7 separate regions of the Homo sapiens genome follow, and all the other regions are linked to region 7. The links are contacts of gene promoters, found by promoter capture Hi-C in blood cells and fetal thymus (Javierre and others, 2016). All regions are on one chromosome and are shown on one strand. The core of a region is centred on a gene start or on the middle of the fragment in contact, and the rest is flanking DNA. Distances in the headings are between cores, read along the strand shown.

Evidence for each region. The method cuts DNA at HindIII sites, captures the fragments that hold promoters and counts their contacts. A CHiCAGO score of 5 or more calls a contact.
Region 1: a contact is called between a fragment that was not itself captured here and the fragment with the promoter of DNAJB11 in region 7, in 1 of 17 cell types (total B cells). The highest score is 5.4, in total B cells.
Region 2: a fragment that was not itself captured here is called in contact with the fragment with the promoter of DNAJB11 in region 7 in 2 of 17 cell types (naive CD8 T cells and activated CD4 T cells); the score reaches 5.2 in naive CD8 T cells.
Region 3: a fragment that was not itself captured here is called in contact with the fragment with the promoter of DNAJB11 in region 7 in 2 of 17 cell types (naive B cells and total B cells); the score reaches 6.7 in naive B cells.
Region 4: a fragment that was not itself captured here is called in contact with the fragment with the promoter of DNAJB11 in region 7 in 1 of 17 cell types (activated CD4 T cells); the score reaches 5.3 in activated CD4 T cells.
Region 5: a fragment that was not itself captured here is called in contact with the fragment with the promoter of DNAJB11 in region 7 in 2 of 17 cell types (activated CD4 T cells and naive B cells); the score reaches 6.1 in activated CD4 T cells.
Region 6: a fragment that was not itself captured here is called in contact with the fragment with the promoter of DNAJB11 in region 7 in 1 of 17 cell types (naive B cells); the score reaches 6.9 in naive B cells.

What each region holds. Positions count from the first base shown.
Region 1 is chr3:186,158,136-186,161,265 of GRCh38, reverse strand. The region is part of intron 24 of DGKG (diacylglycerol kinase gamma); the gene reads left to right. Among named protein-coding and RNA genes, the nearest start is that of ETV5, 51 kb to the right of the region's middle. The HindIII fragment of the contact is 1,963 bases long and covers 590-2,552 here.
Region 2 is chr3:187,062,609-187,065,825 of GRCh38, reverse strand. All of the region lies in intron 5 of ST6GAL1 (ST6 beta-galactoside alpha-2,6-sialyltransferase 1), which reads right to left. Among named protein-coding and RNA genes, the nearest start is that of RPL39L, 75 kb to the left of the region's middle. RefSeq lists an enhancer at 13-192. The HindIII fragment of the contact is 2,549 bases long and covers 160-2,708 here.
Region 3 is chr3:186,103,738-186,106,999 of GRCh38, reverse strand. ETV5 (ETS variant transcription factor 5) reads left to right here. Exons shown (of 13, transcript NM_004454.3): 2 at 1,058-1,176; 3 at 1,288-1,375; 4 at 1,504-1,551; 5 at 1,645-1,695. The coding sequence starts at 1,132. Among named protein-coding and RNA genes, the nearest start is that of ETV5, 3.7 kb to the left of the region's middle. The HindIII fragment of the contact is 886 bases long and covers 1,387-2,272 here.
Region 4 is chr3:187,041,044-187,044,121 of GRCh38, reverse strand. ST6GAL1 (ST6 beta-galactoside alpha-2,6-sialyltransferase 1) reads right to left here. Exons shown (of 8, transcript NM_173216.2): 4 at 812-1,468. The coding sequence starts at 1,418. Among named protein-coding and RNA genes, the nearest start is that of RPL39L, 97 kb to the left of the region's middle. RefSeq lists an enhancer at 2,219-2,288. The HindIII fragment of the contact is 3,531 bases long and covers 1-3,078 here.
Region 5 is chr3:186,064,661-186,068,133 of GRCh38, reverse strand. ETV5 (ETS variant transcription factor 5) reads left to right here. Exons shown (of 13, transcript NM_004454.3): 8 at 2,062-2,321. Among named protein-coding and RNA genes, the nearest start is that of ETV5-AS1, 13 kb to the left of the region's middle. The HindIII fragment of the contact is 2,996 bases long and covers 1-2,802 here.
Region 6 is chr3:186,087,136-186,090,666 of GRCh38, reverse strand. The region is part of intron 5 of ETV5 (ETS variant transcription factor 5); the gene reads left to right. Among named protein-coding and RNA genes, the nearest start is that of ETV5-AS1, 9.7 kb to the right of the region's middle. The HindIII fragment of the contact is 4,166 bases long and covers 1-3,531 here.
Region 7 is chr3:186,569,272-186,572,746 of GRCh38, reverse strand. DNAJB11 (DnaJ heat shock protein family (Hsp40) member B11) reads right to left here and starts at 2,027. Exons shown (of 10, transcript NM_016306.6): 1 at 1,782-2,027; 2 at 496-652. The coding sequence starts at 1,849. It also overlaps a transcript of TBCCD1 not described here. RefSeq lists a silencer at 1,776-2,015. The HindIII fragment of the contact is 6,099 bases long and covers 1-3,475 here.

The sequences.
Region 1 (3,130 bases), core at 322-2,821, 410 kb after region 7:
TTACTACCTCAAAAGGAAGACTGTTCTGCTGATGAACAAGTCAAATTGCTTCCTTACGTGGAAGCCAAATCTACACACTTACCTTACCTAGAATTTGGTAGGGTAGCGCCTTTGACTGCTGGAGCTCCCGGGAGAAAATTCCTCGCAGAGCACAGACATGCCTCCCAGTCGGTGCACCCAAAGCCCTGATAACCTACTTGAAAATTCCACTGAATGAGTCACCACGCAGGTTATCTATTTTGTTTATGGCACTGTCACCCAGAACGTAGAACAGTGCCTGGTTTGTAATAGTTGCACAATAATACATGTCAAATGATGAATAAAAGACTGAACAAATGAACTAACAAAAATAGACTATCTCCATTCCCAGACTTACCATATCCGTTAGCTCTCCCTTTAGCACTAGGACAGGAGCCATGCATCCTTCCTTCTTAGTTTGTCCTCAGTTAGAAATGCAGCTAGAATCTCGTGGTGAAGAGCAATCGTCGTCCTGGTTTTCAGGGCCTCTGCTGGGATACTACATGCGTAATACCCTCAATAAGATTGCAGCTATGCAAATTTCAAAAGACAAAAGTGGAGTTTCTAAGCTTCCTCACTCTAGTGGAGTATTCAGATACTTTGATCACCTGCTATTTTGAGCCCTCCAGAACATCAAATTGTCTTCTACTAAAGGAAGGTTTCCATGAACCTGCTGAGAAAAGGTAGCATCTTCTATAAAGGTTATCAAAAACAGAAATTTCTCTGCAAAAATCTTACCTCAATCTTATGAAGACCAAGAAAAAAATGAAAACACACTATATCAAATAATAGCTTTCCACCTTGCTGGAGTTAGGACGCATAGAGGGAATTTCTACTATTTATCATTTGATGGAACTGAGTTGAGAAGAATCTATCCAAGTTCCTTTTATCTCCAACCCCCCTACAAAAAAAAAGGTGGAAGAAATCAAACCCTCTCCTACCTGGTTCAGTCCTAGCTGAAAACTGGATTGCTATTCCTATAAATTCAAGCACTGGATTTTGAAATAGCCAAATGCTTCTCCCTATGCCCACACCCACCCTTCCTCCATACCACCCTTTAGAGATTACAACTCACTATGAAAAAATTTGTGAACCAATGATTTCATAGTGTGAGGCCCAGAAATCCGTATGTAAAGGTATATTCGTCTGCTTTGAGTGCCATAATAGAATACCACAGACTGACAGCTTAAACAACAGAAATTTATTTTCTCACAGTTCTGGAGGCTGACAACACAAGACCAAGGTGCCGGAAGGGCTGGTTTCTGGGGAGGCCTCTCTTCCTAACTTCCAACGGCTGCCTTCTTGTTGTATCCTCACATGGCTTTTCCTCTGTGTTTGTACACTCTTTTCTCTTCTTATAAGGACACCAGTTCTAAGGGATTATGGCCCCCCCGCCCCTTGTGACCTCATTTATCCGTTATTACCTCCTTAAAGGCCCTACCTACAAATATAGTCACACTGGGGGTTAGGAATTCAACATATGAATTTGGGGGGGACACAATTTATTCCATAACAGAAGGTAACAGAAAATCATTCTTAAACTTGCAAGGGTTAAAACCCATGTACCCCTTGTTGAAACATCTTCTTGAAGGTATACACCAACTAAGAAGTGATTCAAAATTAAAGCCTTAAGAATGGACTATCACAGCCCAAAAGAACTTTTGGTAAAAATGGAAACCAGTGAAATTAGAATGAAGTTTCCAAAAACCTGCTAAATATGTTTATGCAATAAATGCAAATGGCAAAAAATCATTCTTTGAAAGAGAAGACATATCATGTAAATATTAATAACCTGTATCCCAAACCTGAGATTATATTAACAAAGGCCAAAAACATGCAGGAGACACTGCTGAAGGAATAGTAAAGATATGTGAAGTTTCTCATTGTCTCTCTTCACTTTGATGACAAAACGTATAAATCAGAAGATAATTTTAATAGGTAGACAATCACTAGCGAAACTAAAAATAGGGTGCACACCTTTCAAATCTGGAAGAATTTAAAATATATAAACCCTATTAATGTAGCACAGGATAGAAAGCAAAAAATAAGCCAACATTTAAAAATTTTTTGAAGCAAGTTGAATGATGTTAAGACTGTATATATATAATATATATATAAAAGAAAAATAGATGAGTTAAAATTCCCTATTAAAAGATCAATACTCTCATATTGAGTTAAAAATGAAAATCCAAATATATGCTTCTTACAAAAGATACATCTAAAATGAAAGGTTATACATACGTATATATAATATATATCTTATTTTATCCTTTATCAGGTATAAAGAAATTAAAAGGAAGACATAGTAATGTTAATTATGCTAATTTTAGGCAAACTAACCTTTCCATGTGCCTAAAGCATAAAGCAGAATAAGTAAACACATTTTTTATTTGATAAAAAGTACATTCAATTATGAGATATAGTGGTCATAAAATGTTAGATATTTAATAACAGAATCAAAATATATAAAAAACTATCAATACATATTCTGAGAAAAGGTTGATATAGAATTGACAGACAGATATTGAGAAGCTTGAAAATATTTGTTTCCATCTTTGAGGTTAAGTAGCAAAAAAATAAATGCTTGGATGAAATAACTCTATAACTCATAAAGAAATTAAATATCATATTTGTTCAGGCATTCATATTTATTAAACTAGATCATAAACTAGTTTACAAGGCAAAAAGCTCCATAAAATCCAGTTGCAGAAATTATAAAGGTCATTTTCTTTGACCACAAAGTAATAAAGCTAGAAATTACTAATAGAAGATTAAGTGAATAAACAAAATTTAGTCACTTGGAGACTTAAAAATTCTCCTAAACAACAAGAGATTTATGAGGAGATCAAAGCCACCATGGTAGATTACTCAAAAAATTACAAAAATAAGAAGGCTCCAGTTTAAAAATTATAGAATATAGCCTAAACTATATTTGGAAGTAAATTAAAAGCCTCATAATCTTCCATCATATAAAAAAGAAGTAAAATGTAATGAATAATACTAAAATTAGAAGAGCAATAATAAAACAATCTTAGGAGAAGCAGAAGGAAGAAAATAATAAAGATAAAAGAAGAAAATAACTAAAAACAGGAAACTCTAGAACTAGTTCTTA
Region 2 (3,217 bases), core at 185-2,684, 490 kb before region 7:
AGATGGTATATATAATATATTTAACAAATGGCATCAACTATTATTTCAAGATAAGCCCCACTGAGTAATCTGGAAATGTCCTGGTTGCAGTCCAGTCAGTGTGGACTGTTGCTAGGCATATAGGAAGTAGGTCTTCTCTCTCCAGCTAGCACAAAAGCTTCCAAGGAAGCCACTGGGTCTTCTTGTCCCATTGTCTCCTCTCTCAGGCCCACAGGGTACAGGAGGTACTGAGTTGAGTCTCACAGAAACCTTCTTACTCTTATAGTCAAAACTGCATTTATTTAAAGACCTGTCCATTTACATATATCATTTTTCCTGTTGACTCTCATAGCCACACCTGGCACAGAAGTGTCACATGCCTGACTAGGTCTGCTGGCCTGAAACCTAACAGTATGACACCATTCTCTATAAAAAGCCACCTTCTCAATAAGAAAAGTGCCTTTTTTGTTTTGCATGCCTTCATCATGGCCAAGGGAGGGGAGCTGAACAAATGTGGGTCCAGATGGCTTTAGAAGAGAGCTGCTAAAGCCAGGCGCAGTGGCTCATGCCTGTAATCCCAGCACTTTGGGAGGCTGAGGCAGGTGGATCACCTGAGGTCAGGAGTTTGAGACTAGTCTGGCAAACATGGCAAAACCCTGTCTCTACTAAAAATACAAAAAATTAGCTGGGCATGGTGGTGCATGCCTGTAATCTCAGCTACTTGGGAGACCGAGGCAGGGGAATCACTTGAACCCAGGAGGCAGAGCAGGGAGCCGAGAGTGCACCACTGCACTCCAGCCTGAGCGCAAGAGCAAAACTCTGTCTCAAAAAAAAAAAAAAAGAAAAAGAAGAGAGCTGCTGTCAGGAGACCTCTCCGTCTGGGAAAAGAACAAGCCACTCAGAGGCAGAATTCTACCAAAGCAACAGCTATTCTCTCAGTGACTTCTGGGTGCCAGATGTTCTCCTTGTGGAGTGGGGGTGGGGACCCCGTTTACTAATCCACAGAAACAGACACAAAATAGTTAGGATAACTGACCAGGACAAAAGATAGAGAAGACAGACCACCAGCTTTTTAGGATATCAAGGTAAGAAAGGGCAATGATAGAAAGTGTCCATCACAGTTCAGTACCACCACAAGTGCTGTCATGGAGCGGCCAGGACTCGAGTACGAAAGGAACAGCCAGATACTTAGTGTTGCTTACAGGAGGTGAGAAAAGAGAGCTGACTTGCCTAAGAAGCAGCAGGAAAGGCTCTCTTGAGGGTGGGTAGTGTATCCCGGGAAGTGGGCCACCTTCCTCGCAGCCCTGGCACAATGGTGCACAGAGATCTAGAAGTGTAATGGGAAAAAAATCTGCTTCAGTAGAAAGCCATGCATTTTCTGAGCACACTCTTCCTCCCTGTCAGATTCTGATTCCACGGGAGCTATTTCGCAACCCTTTGTGAATTGTAGGCAACTAATACATGTGCCTACTGGGCAGGATGCTGCCCAGGAGAGTTTCAATTGATTTCTCCCCTCCCCCTGCCTTATCTCACAGAAAAACTAGTTCAACTCCTTTACTCCAAATTTGTGTTGCTTTGACTTTTCCTTTGAACCAGTTGTAATATCTGCCTGGTTCCATCATACGAGTAAAATAAAATCTTCATGATGAATTCATTTTTAATATCTGTATGAGAGTCATCATCTTACCTTTTTTTCCCTAAAAATTATCCTTTAACAGAAGTTTTGCCTCCCTTCTGCTAGATGCCTCTCAAGTGGTCTCAAGCTGACTCACCTTCCCTGTTGGGATTTGGGAAGGTGGAGTCATTCGCAAACAGGCAGAGGCAGACATTCAGGTTTCAGTAGTGCCCATCGCTACTATTTACAAAGCACTTGCTGCATACCAGCCTCTGGGTGACATGCTCCACACATAGTAACTCCTTTGATCCTAAAAAAAAACCCTGGATAGTAACTATTCATATTTCTGTGTTACAAGTAAGGGAAATGAGGCTCAGAAAGGTAAAGTAAAGCAACTTGCTGAAGTCACTCACACAGGAAGTGTTGGGGGAGGGATCTGATCAAAGCCTGCCTGACTCCAGTACTCTTAATTCCCAGGCAACCTTACTTTGGCCTTAAATACAGTTTCAAATCTTTGCAGGACTGGGGTTTCGTTCTTCACAGTGAGGAAGACTGAATCATCACGAAGAAGTGCTCAGAGAGTAGGTAGCCTCCGCAGTCCAAGAGAGTGCTCAGGGAGGGCTCCTCCCCTCTCCCCTCTCCTCTTTGCTGCTGCCTGCTCACCTCCAGATCCTACCATCCATGTATCAAACAGAGATTGGTTTCTCTCTAAATTCATTCTCTTCAACCTCAAAGTAGCCCAGCATGGCCTGGAAATCCTACTCCATTCATCAGGTTTACTGACGGTCCCACTCACCTCAATGACAATTATAAATCTCTTTGTTCAAACCTTCTCTACTAAAACCTCTTTCCCCCTCAGCCTCCTTCTGACTTGGCCTTGCATGCCACTTTGCAGAGAAAATAGAAGCCCTCTCATCCTTCTAATACTGACTGCCTCCAGCTACACCACTCGCACCTTCTTCCCTCTGACTCCCGCCTGCTGGGGTTCATCCTCCACTACGCTTTGGCTCCACCACCATCATGTTGTGGGTAACTAATCATTTTCTCCTCTTTTTAGTATATTCACTTTCTCCCTCTATCAACTGGTTTCTCCCTGTTGATTTAAAAGAAAGCTTTTAAAATATACATAACATAAAATTGACCATTTTAGCAACTTTAAGTATTCAGCTTAGTACATTCCTATTGTTGTGTAACTATCACCACCATCTCCAGAACTTTTTCAGCTTCCCAAAATGAATCACAGTATTCATTAAACAACAATTCCACATTCCTTTCTCCTCCTAGCCCTTGGCAAACATCATTCTACTTTGTTTCTACTCCAGGTGTTCCATATAAAGTGGAATCATACAGTGTTTGTACTTCTGTGACTGTCTCCCCTACTGACATTTTTTCCAATTTAAAAATTGTATTAAAATACATATAACATAACATTGACTATCTTAACCATTTTTAAGTGTACAGTTCAGTGATATTAAGTACATTTGTATTGTTGTGCAACTATCACCACAAACCATCTCCAAAACTTTTTCAGTCTTGCAAAATTGAAACTCTATACTCATTAAACAGTAACTCCCCATTCCCCCTCCCACCTCACATTCCCTGGCAACCACATTCATATAGTAT
Region 3 (3,262 bases), core at 580-3,079, 470 kb after region 7:
TATGTCAAACAAAAGAAGTTGACCTTTAAGCATTTTGAATTGCTTAGAGCTGGAGTGAGTGAAATTAATGTTTTTCCACCTTTTGTTGACTTAACGGTGTTTTTATTTGAAGAATAAAAGTGTTTAGGAAGATGGTACCTCCCTGAAATTGTTACTTTATTCCACTCACGTTAGGAGAAGTTTTCTCCCTTCTAACCCCACCCTTTTTCCCCAGACTCACACACTTACCCGTCCTGAAATGAGTTTCATTTGGGGGTGGGGGGGTATGTCTAGAAAAAAATGATTCCGCTATATGAAACAGCCTAAGTTTTAAAAGACCTTTGGTAGAGATGCATTGTACCACATGCAATGGAATTAGTTTTTTTAATCCATTACTTTTCATAGACATTTTACTCTTTTAGAAGTTGGAGATGTCACAAATATCTCTGTAAGTAACCAGGGAGATATTTGTGACATTACAGATGCTATATCTGTTTAGTCCTCTTTTAAATAAAGAGTTGTGTGTGAAGATAAGTATACCTCTGATCAATTTATTCCAGGAACTATATATAGTGTTTTAACAGTGACCTACAAAATGCTTTTGGAAACACCATGTATGTCAGATCTTTAATTGCCAATAATTTGGAATACTTAAACCCAGTTTCTCTGCTTCCTGACACTGTACTGTCAAAAATTAAATTATCTCTTTTTTAAAAACCCTACTACAAATGCCCTGGAGTATATGAGAGAATCTTGAAATCACCCTTTTATTTTATTTTATTTATTTATTTTTGTTTTGGTAGAGAACAGACAGTAGCAAATCTGTAATTTTAATGATTTAAATAAGAAAGAAAAAATGATGACTGGGTAAATGGATTTGGCACGGAGTACATCCTGTACCTCTGATACCATTAATCAAGCCCGGCATTGGTGTGTAAAGCTTGCACCTTGAGTAGGTTTTAAGTACTTCACAGAAGGGTAATAATTTTGCACAGGCCCTAAAAAAAAGGCAGTCTAAAATTGTTTCATTTCTTTTTTTCCCCCCTCTTAGTTAAAATCTCCCAAATTCATATTACAGGAGGATCCCTTTTCCCCCAGAAATTACTCAATGCTGAAACCTCTCAAAGTGGTATTAGAGACGCTGAAAGCACCATGGACGGGTTTTATGATCAGCAAGTCCCTTTTATGGTCCCAGGGGTAAGTTTATGTGGCTTTTGGTTTGTTTTGTCCTCCCTCTCCAATATGAGTCTTCCCCCTGTGGACCTCTTTACTACACTTGAGCCTTCACTTTCTGTTGGCCTCTTTCAGAAATCTCGATCTGAGGAATGCAGAGGGCGGCCTGTGATTGACAGAAAGAGGAAGTTTTTGGACACAGATCTGGCTCACGATTCTGAAGGTAGTAAAGCTTTCCCTGATTATGTTGTGGCTTCCCTGCTCCCAGTGACAGTAGCGTGTAGATTCTTCCCTGTCTTCTCCCTAGCGAAAGAAATATCCTCATTCTGGGGTCTTCTTTTTCAATTTCAGAGCTATTTCAGGATCTCAGTCAACTTCAAGAGGCTTGGTTAGCTGAAGGCAAGTTTCATGGATGTCCTATTTTCCATATAAAACATTTTACTGTGCTTTTTAATAAAACTTAAAGGTCTAAAATAAAAATCTATTTTCCAGCACAAGTTCCTGATGATGAACAGTTTGTCCCAGATTTTCAGTCTGATAACCGTAAGTACCTTTCTGGTGATGGCACATTTGTTCTGAAATTGTTTGGTCTTAGATCATCCATGTCTAGAATATGCTTTTTTCAGCTATGGCCAGATTTAGACAGTAGTATGCATTTAGTTTCTTCTAATAATTCAGAATTAACCCTGAAAACTTTTATTTCATAATAAAATTATTTCTAAAGTATTTCTACTGTATTGCAGGTAAGATTTACTGAACATAATTTTATCCTAAATTTCTTTTTACCTTAAGAATATTGTAAAGCTGACTGGGCACAGTGGCTCACACCTATAATCCCAGGGCTTTGGGAGGCTGAGGCAGGTGGATCACTTGAGGTCAGGCATTCAAGACCAGCCTGGCCAATATGGTGAAACCCCGTCTCTACTAAAAATACAAAAATTAGCCAGGTGTGGTGGTGGGCGCCTGTAATCCAAGCTACTCAGGAGGCTGAGGCAGGAGAATCACTTAAATCCAGAAGGCGGAGGTTGCAGTGAGCTGAGATCGCATCACTGCACTCCAGCCTGGGCAACAGAGCAAGACTCCATCTCAAAAAAAAAAAAAAAAAGAATATTGCAAAGCTTTAAGCTCAAAATTATAAATTAACTGACAAAATATATTTGGTGTTAGGCCAAGCATCTATTAATCACACATTGTTTTATGGCTTTTTTGGGGTTTGTTTTATAAATTAAGTCCTTGATGTGAATCATGAACCTGATATTTCTCTTTTTCTTAAAGGTGCAGAAAATAGTTAATGGAAAACTCCAGTTAACTTTGGCTTCATCCAACATGTTGTCAATTTTGTCTCTACCCCTAAGCTGACAAGGGGTGGTCACAGAGTGGCCTGATTTACTCTTACTTTTCGTGTAGTTGCTGTGGCTTTTCTCTTCAGAGAAGAGAAACTTTTTCTTAAAATGGCCACTAAGTGCTCATTACTAGAGAGAAAATGCAGTGGGAAGCTCAAAAGATGGCTTTCAACACTGGCAGGGGCATGGTTACTTTGCACTGATCTTTTGGGGCTGTCCTCAACAGGTTTGGGAGCTTTTATGGTCTAGGCAGAGTTATGAAGGACAAAGCCGGCTGATGAAATTTGAGCAGCACAGGGCTGCTCTAGAGAGCATTAGTCACTGGCGAATGAGCAGGTTTAAGAGAGGCCTGGAGAAAATGCTGCCTCTCTTGAGAGTTGCATCATAGAGAAATTCATGTCTCTTAGTCATAGTTTATAATAGCAAGCACCTGAGCCATGCAAGGACTCAATTTCTCATTTTGGACCAACAGATTCTTCCCAGCTTTGTTTTATCTCTGGGTAGGTGGGTGTATGTGTGTAAAAATGCCACTGGAGAGAGAGTATCTTAGGTCTCTCTCTAAGTAAAAAGTTGGGTATTCCAAATCTTTTAAATGTAAGAGCAGAGGTAACAGCTAAACATTCCTTAATGATAGGCCTCATGTCCAAGGCACAATGCCATGAAACTGTAAAAGGGAATAAACTGGAACACACACATGCATGGTTACCTTAGCTTTGTCACAGCTTGCTGTGGATGTGTTCTATGGGAGAGTAAATGCATGTTAATTA
Region 4 (3,078 bases), core at 351-2,850, 470 kb before region 7:
GTGACTCTGAAACTTTTTTGGGTCACAGATCCCTTAGAGAATAAACTGCAGTCTACAAACTCCCTTCCTGGAAAAATGCACGGACACACTTATACGCATACACATACATTCTACACACCTAATCCACAGACAGTTTTGCACGCAATTGCAGGGATTCATGACCCTCTGAAGTTGGTCCATAGCCCCCAGTTAAGAATTACTGACCCAATTAAATCTTTTCAAAGAGAAAAGCTGAAAATTACCCAGGTTGTTGAGGCCAATAGAGTCCTCCACTAATCAGGAAAAACAACAGAATTTCAGAACCTGGAAATGATGTGCAGATCTATGCTTCAAGTCTTTTCAAAGGTCAATTGTAGGCTTTTGATTATTGGTAGCAGCGGAACTCTCTTTTTCAAATGAAATCTTCTACACAATTCCAATATTTAAAACAGATGAAAATAAAACTATTCTGTTCCCAACACAAAGAAACAATAAATGTTCAAGGTGATAGATATTCTAATTACCCTGATTGGATCATTACACATTGAATACACGTATCAAAATATCCCCATAAATATATCTAATTATTATATATCAACTAAAAATATTAGGAAACAATAATGAAGCTCTTCTAATTGATAAAAGATGCGGGGGCCTAGAGCGCCATCTGTTCAACTCCCTCTGTGTCACTTGTGACTCTGAAAAAAACACTGCCCTGGGCCCACTCCACTGGTCCGCTGAGCCACACTTGGGCCACTTGTCTCCCATACCATCAATATGCCCAGCCAGTCCCAATAAGCACTGCCATTCACAGAACAACCCCAGAACATACCGATTTCTCTGCCTAGTTGGGAGGACTTCAGAGATCCCGCTGACGACACAACAGCACACCTGCCCCAAGGCCCAGCCTTGGTCCTAATGCTCTCCTTGGGCAGATAACCCTCCCATTCAGAGGTATTGAAGGGAAAATCTGTGACCTCTACCATGGATACATTCACATGGTCCCGGAGGTGGCAGCGCAGGGCCTCTGCACTGAACTTGATGCCTGGTCCTGGCCCCTTGTAGGACACTTTGTACTTGTTCATGCTTAGGTAATTCTTCCAGATCTTTTGCAGCCTAGGGATAAGGTTTTTGGAAGAGCTGTCCTTGTTCCACACCTGGAAGGAGGCCTCTGGTTTGGCCTTGGCTAGGCCTCTGAGACTGCCGAGGGTCTGGCGGCCCCTGTGGGGGTCCTGGGTGCTGCTTGAGGATACAGACTGGGAATCAGACCCCATGGCCAATTTCCCCAGACTCTTTAACACCTGGAATTCCTTGGTTTGCAATTTAAAGGAATCATAGTAACTCCCTTTCTTCTTTTCCTTCCACACACAGATGACTGCAAACAGAAGAAAGACCAGGACGCAGCAGCTGAACTTTTTCTTCAGGTTGGTGTGAATCATAATGAAGATGTGTTCAGGGAAGTCACTTTGTTCTGAGCAGGAAAACAAGCCTAAAAAAAGTGAGACAAGGAAAAACAAATGATGTAAAGAAAAACCCAATGTGGCATGAGGCGGAGCGATGGACTGAGCAATAGATTTGAAATGAGGTGACTTGAATTCCAGCCCTGGTCTACCTCCTGGCCACCTCTGCAGCCTGTTAAGCAATTCTCGACAAAAGTCAGACTCAATTTGGGCTTTGAACGTGGACAGCAGTCCCTCTTCCTCTTCCACTCTTCCACTCCCTTCTTCCTCTTGAGCCATGAACACTTTATATGTCCTCCCATCATTACTTTTTCTATGCTGAATATTAGTTTCTGGTTGCCTTGGTCTACCTCTCTGACTGCACTCTGAGTTTCTTGAAGTCAGAAACCACATCTTGCAAATCACTCAGTTCCTAGGGCCTTGTAACATTTGTTAAATGAAGCCATGCATGCTTGAAAAAAAAATAGAATAAAAAAAAGCAGGCTGACTGTTTTACATCACCAGACCTAAACTTCCTAAAATAGTAAGTGGCCCAACACCCCTTCAAAATGGCCAGAAAAAGACTTCTCGTTATAGATGATGCCATAGATTTCTGATGTATCTCTCTAAGGGCTGCGATGCTGGACTCCTGCATGAGAAGATCGAGGGTTATCTCCACCACAGTTTTGTGCAGTGCCCTGCAAGAAGAGCACTGCTGAGACAGGAAGCTGACTCACCTCATGATAGAGGCTAGGAATTCTGGGTAAGATAGCAGACATGTAGCCAACTAAGGAAATGGAAACAAAAATTCATTAAGCACGCTAGATGTTATTTCACTTAACTTCACCATAACCAGGGCCACCATGAGACACAACTCTGGGGGCACCACGCATAGCATAGTCTAATACGAAGGGCATCTCCTAACCTGTACAGGGTTCACTTCAAAGGTGTTATAATCTCCATTTTATGGATTAGCAACCTGAGGCTCTAAGAAGTCAAGGGAAGTGCCCAAGCTCACAGAGCTGAGGAAATGGTTGCACTGAGGTTCAAATCGAAGTGGATTTGATTCCATAACCCATGTCCTTTCCAGTACAACATGCACAGAACTGCAAGAAGCTCTGGAAAATAGATTTCACTGAGCAAATAGAGACTGAATAGTCTCTTTATTTCTGAGTAAACACCTACTTTGTTTTCTCAGAATTTATTGTGTAACTGAATGGAAACTGGAAGCACTTTGAACTCAAATAATGTCTGTATCTTTTGGAAAACATTACATTCTTTCCCCAATCACTGGGTTTATTTACAATAATAAATCAAAGCAATCACCTCCGGGGTTTTGCTAACCCACTAGGGGTCTGAGGTCCCTTCCCATGGATCCCGCTCCTAAGGATATCAGGAAAAGGTAGTAGGAGTACTGGACTGGGTGTTCACAAAACCTGGGTTCTTATCCCCATTCTTGGTGACCTTGGGCAGGTCACTTAATATTTCTGCCCCTGAGTTTTTCAGAATAATTATCTCTGCCCTATGTGATTTGCAGAGTGTTGGGAGGGCAAAACAAGAGCATGGTATTCATTGGATTTGAACTAGATAAGCAAAAAGGCACAGAAGGTATTCTGAACAGAGACAGGAGAGCAGCAGCTCAGCCTGGGGGCCATGTGGA
Region 5 (3,473 bases), core at 55-2,554, 500 kb after region 7:
TGACTGAATTGCTGTTCAGGTACCTGGCACAGAATTAGTAACTGCCTGCTCATCTTCCAAGCTAAAAGGAAAAACACTTCTCTTCTGACTTTGTTACTTTTTTAATTACTAATGAGTTAAACTTTTTGTTTATGACCATTCCTATTCTGTAAGGATATTCCTGTTTATGTCCTTTGCCCATTTTTTTCCTCTTGAGATATTCATCTTTTGTTAATTTCTAAAAGCTCTTTTTGCCAACAGTGAGATTCCTGTATCTGTGGAGATTTTTCCTCAGTTTTACTTTTGGTTTTGTTTCTGGTGTTTTCTGACTACTGCAGATTCTTTCCCCCTGGTTTGATGTGTTTCTTTTGGTTTTGTTTCCGATGTCTTTTTAAGTTATAGAAATTTATACAGTGAGGTATATCCAGGTTTATCTTGATGATTTCTGCTGTTGGTATGATACTTAGGTTTTCCCTCACTCCCAAGTTTTGTAAGTTTTCATATATATTTACTTTCATATGATGGTTTCACTTTTTTTTTTTTTTGAGACAGTCTTGCTCTGTTGCCCAGGCTAGAGTACAGTGGCGCAATCTCGGCTCACTGCAACCTTCACCTCCTGGGTTCAAGTGATTCTGATGCCGCAGCCTCCTGAGTAGCTGGGATTACAGGTGCACAAAACCACGCCTGGCTAATTTTTTTAGGTTTTTTTGTTGTTGTTTATTTTGAGACGGAGTCTCGCTCTGTCACAAGGCTGGTGTGCAGTGGCGCTATCTCAGCTTACAGCAAACTCCGCCTCCCAGGTTCAAGCGATTCTTCTGCCTCAGCCTCCAGAGTAGCTGGGACTACAGGCGCGCACAACCACATCCAGCTAATTTTTGTATTTTTAGTAGAGACGGGTTTCACCATGTTGGCCAGGATGGTCTCAATCTCTTGACCTCGTGATCCCCCCGCATTGGCCTCCCAAAGTGCTGGGATTACAGGCATGAGCCACCACCGTGCTGGGCCAATTTTTTTGTATTTTTAGTAGAGATGGGGTTTTGGCACGTTGGCCAGGTTGGTCTTGAACTCCTGACCTCAAGCGATCTGCCCGCCTCAGCCTCCCAAAGTGCTGGGATTACTGGCATGAGCCACAATGCCTGGCCTGGTTTCACTTTTTATATTGGAACCTTTAATCCATATGAAATTTATTTTGGTATCTGTATAAAATGGGGTCTAACTTTTTTCCCCAACTAATTTGAAATGCTAACCTTAACAAGTAGTAAATTTTGGAATATACTTGACAGTTTTTGGCTTGCCATTAAATTCCTTTGACCTGCCAATCTCTCAATTTGTTGTATTATTGTTTTAATTATTGAAGTTTTATGACATATGTCAGTAGCTAGTGGGTCCTTATGCCTTTTCAAAATAAAGTTTAGAATCATTTTGTCAAGTTAGTTGGGAAGGCATTTGCTTTTATAGATTAATTTTCAGTGAATCAATAGCTTCAAAGTCCTAAATATATTCTCTTAAATCTTTTTTCTTTCTTTTCCTCTGAAAACAATTTTGAGATTTTATTCTTATATGGCCTATAGGTTTCCTGATTATTCCTAGGAATGTTATGTTTTTTATTGCTACTATGAATGGGATTCTCTCTCTTTTTTCTTTTTAACTACATTTTCTAACTGGTTAATTTGTATTCAGTCTTTAAAAATTCCTTCTATCTATAGGTGAGAGAATGGATGAACTAGTGAACAAACATTTATGTATATGTTAGTGCTATTTGCAGATAATTGGTCTCATATATTCAGATACATAATCTGGCCCATCTATACAGATAGACTGTGCATAAAATATACATACATGGAAGATAAGAGGCTACCACATCATTGCTTTGATTTTTTTTTTTTTTTTTTGCCACTTCCTGACTCAAGAGCTTCGAAATACACAATGTAATTTTGGGAAGAGGGTAAAATGCCCAGAAATAAGCATTATTAAGTACTTTGCAAATAATTTCATTAATTGGAACTTCTAGTCCCCAGTGCTCAATCATAGTAGGAATTCATCAAGTCTTTGTTCAACATGAAAACCTCTTTCTTCTTACAGATTTCAGAGACAACTGTCTGAACCCTGCCACCCCTTCCCTCCTCAGCCAGGAGTTCCTGGAGATAATCGCCCCAGTTACCATCGGCAAATGTCAGAACCTATTGTCCCTGCAGCTCCCCCGCCCCCTCAGGGATTCAAACAAGAATACCATGACCCACTCTATGAACATGGGGTCCCGGGCATGCCAGGGCCCCCAGCACACGGGTTCCAGTCACCAATGGGAATCAAGCAGGAGCCTCGGGATTACTGCGTCGATTCAGGTCAGCATCAAATTGTGCTATTCTTTGCTTCATTCTTGCATTCTTCTGTCTCGTTATTCAGTGTCTTATACATGCAGGGCCTTGGGGACAGGAATTTTTATAAGAATTTTTTATAATTTTTATAAGAATTGCCCTCAAATAACTTAGGAGCTAGTAGAGCTGACATGTTTATGCGCAATGGAATACAAAACAAAACAGAAAAGCTATGTAAGTGGTAGGAAGTGCGGTAGGCATTCAGAAGTGGTATGAAGTACATCTCTGAGTCCAAGCCTGGAGAGTGTTGGGGTTCAGTTTTGGATGGAATTTGCTCGACCTTCTCTGAGATAATACATAGATTGATCTATTCAGGCACCAGTTGGTTATGGGAAATGCTGAGGAAATAGGCAGAAGGGAGAGACCTGTTGCTTTATGACAGAAAAATTACCAAGTGTGAGGTAGTGATCGTGTGTAAACATTTCCATCAGCATTCCTCTGGAAAGCTTTGATGTATTTTTCTCAGGAGTAGCATGAACAGCAACATTTTTTCCTTTAAGACTGACATTTTGATCTGTCCTGATGGGTTTTGCACCCCACTCCACTCCCTTAAAGCAAGACACTCAACAGAGGTTACCATATCTGTAATTCTTTGATCTGAGTTGTATTGCCAGGGTGATGGCTCATCCCACATGGACACAACTCAAATTACTGTCTTTCGTCTCGATGGACACTGATAACATGATGGCTGAAGAAGAGATCACTTGAGTGTGGTTTGGTTTCAGTATGACAGCCCCAGCATGGCAAAAATGGACCAAACTGCAATCCTCTACCCCTTCCAATGCTGGTCCTGGCTTCCTAACTTCAGGTCCCCTAATCCCTTTGGCCTAAAAATACTCCCACCTGTTGGAGCAAAATTAGATGTGACCACCAGCAGTAAAGGGGAGCAAATTAGAAAAGATCTAAAGCAGTCCTCTTCCCGTTCCCACCCTAACACCCAGGAGTCAGCATGGGCAAGAGGCCAGGCTTGGCCTTTTGAAAGCCAGTATTTTTTCCCCTGCCATTGGCTCTTTCACCAGATTTAGTGTTAACACATTTCTAAAATAAGTGAACAATGAGAGTGAAACATCTTTTTTTTCCTCCCGTGACTCTTGATTAGGAGAGCCTGCCTTTCAGCTG
Region 6 (3,531 bases), core at 257-2,756, 480 kb after region 7:
CCCTGGGGATGAAATCGAATGAGTTGTCCAGCTGTTCTGGACAACCTATTTGTCCTAAACGTGTTTTACATATAAATTCACAAGGAGTGGAAATTCTCCATTTTTTCTCAAGAATCGTTTGTGGTTGACTTGGGCATATATTTTAGTTCCTGTTATAGATGCATTAATATGAATATAGTTACTGATAGGTGTTATTTTTGTTGATCATTTTGCATTTGTGTAACTGCTATCTTTTTACCCAGGCAGGTTGATGGAAGTATTAGCAGGCAGTAGTCACAGTGACAGCAGTGGCTGTTTTTATTTTGCCATCTCTGGAGTGTTCCCTTGTCCTTTCTAAGTGGGCCAAAGCCAACAAAATGTGTTTGAGAACCACTGGCGTAGACATTAGGTATGACCAGCATATATCCTTGTGTAAGGCTAGATTCCCAGGGCTGTATTATCCTTCCAATTCAGTAACAGGCCAAGGGTGGCTTTCTTCATTTGTCGACGTATGGTTTTGAGGTTCTAAGCATTTCTACTTTTGACATGTTAGTCAACTATAAGATAAAGGATTTTTTTTCCTCCAAATATCTCAGAGGAAATGGGACATAATAGCTGTTTTATTGATTTATTTTTAAAACGTATTGCTACATTTGCTTCATCTCTGTGTATATATGGTTTTTTCTTAACCATTTGAAAGCAAGTTTCAGGCATTATAACATTTCACCCCAAATACCCTGGTGTGCGTCTCCACAGATTGACATTCTCCTACATAGCCTGAGAAAATTAACTTTTATTCAGTAATGTTTGGAATTCCCCAGTTGTCTCCAGATATCTCTTTAGCAATGTTGATAATGGTTTTGATCTAGGATTCAATTTAAAATCACACATTGCATTTATGTTTATGCTTCATTTGTCTTCTTTAATATGCAACAGTCTCCCTAGCTTTTTTATTTTCCCTGTAACAGTGACTTTTTTGAAGTCTTGGCCAGTCGCTGACTTTTTTAGGGTCCATTTTTAAAGAATATATAGAAATGCAAACAGCATCCAGAAATGCTGCCCTTAGGCTTAGAAATCTCTAATATTGTTGATTCTCTCACTTCTCACATTTATGTATTTGTGTTGACCTTAAAACAGTGGTGAAAGAACAGAGTGACACAGATGGAGATAATTGGGTCAGAGATCATTTGTGCATGTTTGAGGAGAGGGCTTTTGGGGGGCTCATTAAACGGTTTTTAGCACAGCTTGCTCAATAGTTGATTTTACCATTTGTGGATGATTTTTCACCTATTAAATTTGAGAATTTATCCTTACACAGGTTAGCTGTGTGAGATATTAAAGAAAAACGGCACATTCTTCCATACCTACACCAATTCTGCTTTTAGAACTTGTGTCCCCTAACTAAATTTGATAACATTGTCAATTTTTGTTTTTGGAAACTGTTGCCAGGCAGGATCAATGTTAAACAAGTTTGAGCATGCCTCTTATTTGGTTTGGAAATCCAGACATCTCCTTTTCCAGATATTCTTTTTTAAGTGCCAGAACCTGTCCACTTAACCTTATCTCCTTGTGAACCTTCTTGTTTCCCAGAACAGAGTATTATCTACTATTAGAGTCATTCACTAGTGCTGTTAGAGCAGTTACAAAGAATATTGAGGTATAATAGATTTTATGTGTAAAATGAGTTTTTAATCTGCTCAGTCCTAAAATAAATATTTCTGACCCTCTCTGGTAATACTGTAGAACTTAAAAAATAAGTCTTACCCTATCTACATCTTTTTTCCTGCTAACTAGGTATTTGAGCTTTGTCTCAAAATTCGTCAAAAAAGGCAAGAGCTAAGAGTAGGCAGCACTATGTTGGAAGCACAAGGTACACTCCCTCCTGTGACTTAAAGCCCTCTGGTCTTTGCCAGTGGAGTACTCAGACAAGTTAAGGGCAAATCAGGGAAAAAGAGGTCATACCTGCTCTTCCCTGGTGGATTTTTCGGTTCTGTTTTGCCAGTGTCCTTGTTATTTTTCCATGTCCCTCTTCTTGATCATCTTTTCCTCTACCTTCTTTCCCTGTGTTCTACTCACTCCCACAACCACAGAATATTAATAGTATGGGCAGGTGTCTCGGACTTCTCTCCCCTCCCACCCCCATTCTTGGACTATGCAGTATGTAATTCTTCCTCTAGAGGGAAAGGAAGTGAGATGGCAGTGGTCACAGAGAGGAGCAGTGACCCAAAGCTGGTGGCCAGGAGACTTAGGAGAAGGCCTTCATTTCAGGATGATGGCTCTGGAACCCTGAGCAGTGTATGGCCATTACTATTTGTGTACATTCCACATCATATTTGTTCAAGTGTAATGGGAGGCTCTGGAGACCTAGGCCAGCCCCCTGAGCTGCAGCCTCATGGACACGCCATTCAGAAGCACGTGTCAGTGCTCTGGTCAGCTTCTGTCATGAGACACAACTTTCCATGTGAACTAAGAGGATAATGACAGTTGAGTGTGACCTGGAGGTCAGGCCTGCACAGCTGATTTGGGAAAGATGAGTCTGGGCCAGATGAAGGTAAATGAAACTGAAGAAGGGACAAGGAAAACCCCAAAACAGAACGTGAAGGATGGCAACTGCTGGAAGGCGGTCAAAGCCTGTGTGTGAAGTAGGAGAAATCTGGATGGGCTTAGTCCTTCTTCCCTTCAGACCGCAGGGTAACTAATTGGCAATTTCTTTAACACTCAGCAGCTACATAAATGTTTTATGTATTCACAACAAAGTCTGTGGCAAATTGAAACTTTGATGATTATGAAACACCAAAGAAAGCCTTATTAGACAAGATGGGTTTCGTCTTTCTTAAAAAAAAAAAAAATGCTTTTGAATGGAACTGTTGCTCATCATAACATTCAACAAAAGTGTTTTCCTACGTCTTGATCCTTGGGGCTGTAATAGTGAAGTTTACCATTAGCACGGGCATGGGGTGGCCGCCTTGAACAGTCCACAGGCCTGTACTTGTGGGCAGTAAACAGCTTTTGTCAGCAGAGGGAATTATTATTTCTCTTGAATGGACCAGTTTATTTTTTCTATTTTAAAACAACTGAGTTGTTTCTTTGGAAGACTGTTTCTAGACCATCACAGAAGAAAGATTTTCTAAAATTTGATATATTTTAGTATTAACTCTGTGGTGCTATTTGATGAGGACCAGGCTGCTTTTTTAAAAAGTAGAAATTTAATTGAAGTAACATACAGAAATCACAAGAGTACAGCTGCATGATGAATTCTTACAAACGGTATAAGCATTTAGATCAGAAAACGGAACTTATCAGACTATAAGAAGACTCCTGTGCCCCCTTAACAGGCACCACCCCGTCGAGAGTAACCTCCCTCCTGACTTTCAAACACCATAGATTAGTTTTGTCTTTTTTTGAACTTTATATAAATGGACTTACATGGCATGTACCCTTTTGTGTCTGGCTTCTTTTAGCTCAGCATATTTGTGAGATTCATCCATGTTGTTAAGCATAATTGCAATTTCTTCATTCTCCCTTCTGTGTAATGCTAAGATTTTGTTGGGG
Region 7 (3,475 bases), core at 778-3,277:
TGGAGGCAGAATATCTGCTGCCATGTTTTAACTTATACCTGCCCTGCATGTTATTTGTCTAGTTCATATGAACATGCAGGTTTGCAACTCTCATGAAGGCTTTCTTTTTATTTTTGGTTCTAGCTCCCAAACTGATTGAACGACAGACCAATCAGTTGATCTACTTATTAATCTATAATAAGTTCAAGACTAGCCTGGCCAACAGGGTGAAACCCTGTCTCTACTAAAAATACAAAAATTAGCCAGGTGTGGTGGCATGCACCTGTAATCCCAGCTACTTGGGAGGCTGAGGCGGGAGAACTGCTTGAACCCAGGAGGTGGACGTTGCAGTGAGCGGAGATTGCACCACTGCACTCCAGCCTAGGCAATAGAGACTCAGTCTCAAAATAAATAAATAAATAAATAAATGTGAGCTGAAAGGAGTGTTTCTCTGTATTGTATGTTTTTTCTAGAGCTACAGATTTTATTCGTACTTTATCACTTTTCCCAACTCACCTCATAAGCAGCACCCAGATCCTGGAATTTCTCCTGGGCTTGTGGATCATCAGGGTTCCGGTCGGGATGAAGCTGCAGGGCTAGTTTCCTATAGGCCTTTTTAATATCCTTTATAGAGGCACTTCGAGGCACCCCCAAGATCTTATAGAAATCTCGTCTGGGAAGTAGAGGGAGAGAATACTTCATTAAAGAGTTACATGTTACATTTTTCAAAGTAAAAGATTTATTTTTCCTCTACATTTAGGTTTGTATCTGAGCAAAGAGGTATAAAAATGAAGGTTTATGTGACACATACACACACAAAGAATGACTAAAGAGAGAACACCAGAATTTGTAATGAATCTTATATATTGAAGTAATCACAGTAAGAGGCTATATACTTCTTTTCGGATTATTCAAAACATCTGTGGCACTTTTCTTTCAGAACCACCTTCGGTCAAGAAAACCACTTCCTTATTTTATGGTCTCATGTTATCTTTAGGCAATAACCATATAATCAAATTAACTCTTCCCCCCTTTCCCTATACTGGCTCCAAATGATTTTGACTTTTCTAAAAGTCAAATAACACTCTCAAAGGATGATTTTCCTTCTTTAAAAAGATTATGCCACATAAATGTCCTAACAGTAGCACTGCCAGAATGTTAAAGATGAAGCAACTTAAGATAATAAATAGCTCAAGAAGCTGGGAAGTACAAGGGCTGTCTAAAGATCTTCTTGTTCCCATCCCGCATCCAATTTCGTTCAGTCCCAACTCGGGCTGGCATCATCCACCCACTTTAATGTCAGCCCCAGAATGGCTCTTCGAAGGCTTGGCATAGAGCATCGTCCGCTTCTCCACCTCAGCGGGGCACAGCAACTCACCTCTTTGATCAAACAAACGTCCATCCCCTCAACCTCAGCCTGGCACTGTCACTATCTTTCCTTACAGTCAGGCATCCCTCTTTCTTCCCCAGCTCTACGTGACACTGCTTCAGCTCGCAACCACCTTCTTTCCCTCATCCCCCAAATGCCGTTTGGCAATGCATCCAACTCCCACTCCTCTGGGCAAATCTAGCTCTACCTAAGACCCTCTCTGGACCTAAGGCCCTCTCACTGGTGTCACCCACGGTTCTCCTCTCACCCCACTAGCCTGGCCCATACTACCCCTTCCTCCGCCACCCCGCCAACCCACAGCGATGCCCCTCTCCACTCCGTCAGTCTGGCAATGCCACTTCCCCCACCCCCTCCCACCCCCCAGCAAAGGCTGACCCACAGGCCCCGTTGTCTGCGAGTGTCTGTTCCTCACCCGGCAATCACCGCCCCGATGAGGTATAGCAGCAACAGGCAAAAGGTGCTCAGGTTCTGCGGAGCCATGGTTCCTCTGTCCCGGGTCCTGTTCCACACACTCCTCACAGCCTCCTCCGCCGCCGCGTCGGCTCGCCAGCCCACCCGGCCCTGTGAGGCCGCCTCACACCGGGGGGGCGCGGGGGTCTCCTTGGTCCGCAGAGACAGCTAGCTAGCCCCCTCTTCTGCCGGTCCACTTCCCGGGAGTCCCGAGTCCCGGTGAGAGAAGCCCCCGGTAGGCGAGAGCCAATCGTTGCCCGGGACATCACACGCGGCCGGCGCCTGGAAGCCAATCAGCGCAGTACACTTCACCTCCGAGGCGGCACGGGCAACCAGTTAGGCTTCAGAACTGCAGTCGCAGCTCTTGACCAATTAGAAGCGGAGACGTCAGAGGGTCGCGCCGCTGCAGGAACCCGCTCTGCCTGAGCTACCGCGAGTCGTAGAAAATTACGTAATGATAGGGGGCCGGTCAGAGTGAGGGCACCTGAGGTACACGAAATCCCTCCGGCTTGCCCACTTCCTCGGACTTTCCACCAATCAGGAGCTTCCTCCCCAGCACCAACCAATTGTGGGAGAGAAGTTTTCTCTGTGCTACAAGCCCGGAATTTCATTCATACCCAGCTACGCTCCGAATGAGGGAGCAGAGGTACAGCGGCCGAATGAGCGGGAACAGTTATTCCACGACAGGTGTACATCAGACGCATTGCTTAGGCCTCTTATTTTACGTTCTCCAAGCAACTCCATAAGACAACTGTCTCGGAAAGGCTACAGTGATGACAGACCGACTTAAGTTCGGATTCGGCTTCCACCGCTTCTTAGTGGTGAGACCCCCCACCCCTCCCCTCCTCCCAAGTCTGAGCCTAAGTTTATCAACAAAACTGAGGCAAAGCACTTATTGGCAGTTCTGTGAATTTTAACAGGGAAAAAAATCGGTAAATCATCGGGCGTATAGTAAGCAGGCAACGAGTAAAAACCATTATTACGGTTCAAGCAGAACTCTTTGATTCCCCATCTTCCCCCCGATTTTGCTCATCGCAGTTACACAACACCTAGTTGATCAGGACAAAGCTCTAGGTGTTTTTATTCCTTTCATGCATAAGCTATCCAACTCTTTACCTCTGAACTATACTTCAATCTGTTCACTACATCTCCATTACCAGGATTCTGGGTCACAGTGTATCTCTCACCTGGCCAGGGCCTCCTAACTGGCCTCCTTGCCCCCACTCTTAATATCTTCCTTAATATCTTAATATATGTTGCTCATCCCTGTCCCTCACTCCATGATTTAAAAAAAAAAAAAAAAAGCCCGGGCGCGGTGGCTCACCCACCCAAAGTGTAATCAGCACTTTGCGAGGCCGAGACGGGCGGAGCACCTGAGGTCAGGAGCTTGAGACCAGGCTGGCCAACATGATGAAACCCTGTCTCTACTAAAACTACAAAAATTAGCCAGGTGTGGTGGCGAGCGCCTGTAACCCCAGCTGCTCGGGAGCCTGAGGCAGGAGAATTGCTTGAACCTGGGAGGTGGAGGTTGCAGTGAGCCGAGTTCCTGCCACTGCACTCCAGCCTGGGCGACAGAGTGACACACCGTTTCAAAATAAATAAATAAATAAATAAATAAAAAATAAAAGTCAAATCATGTCACTCCCCTGTTTAAAA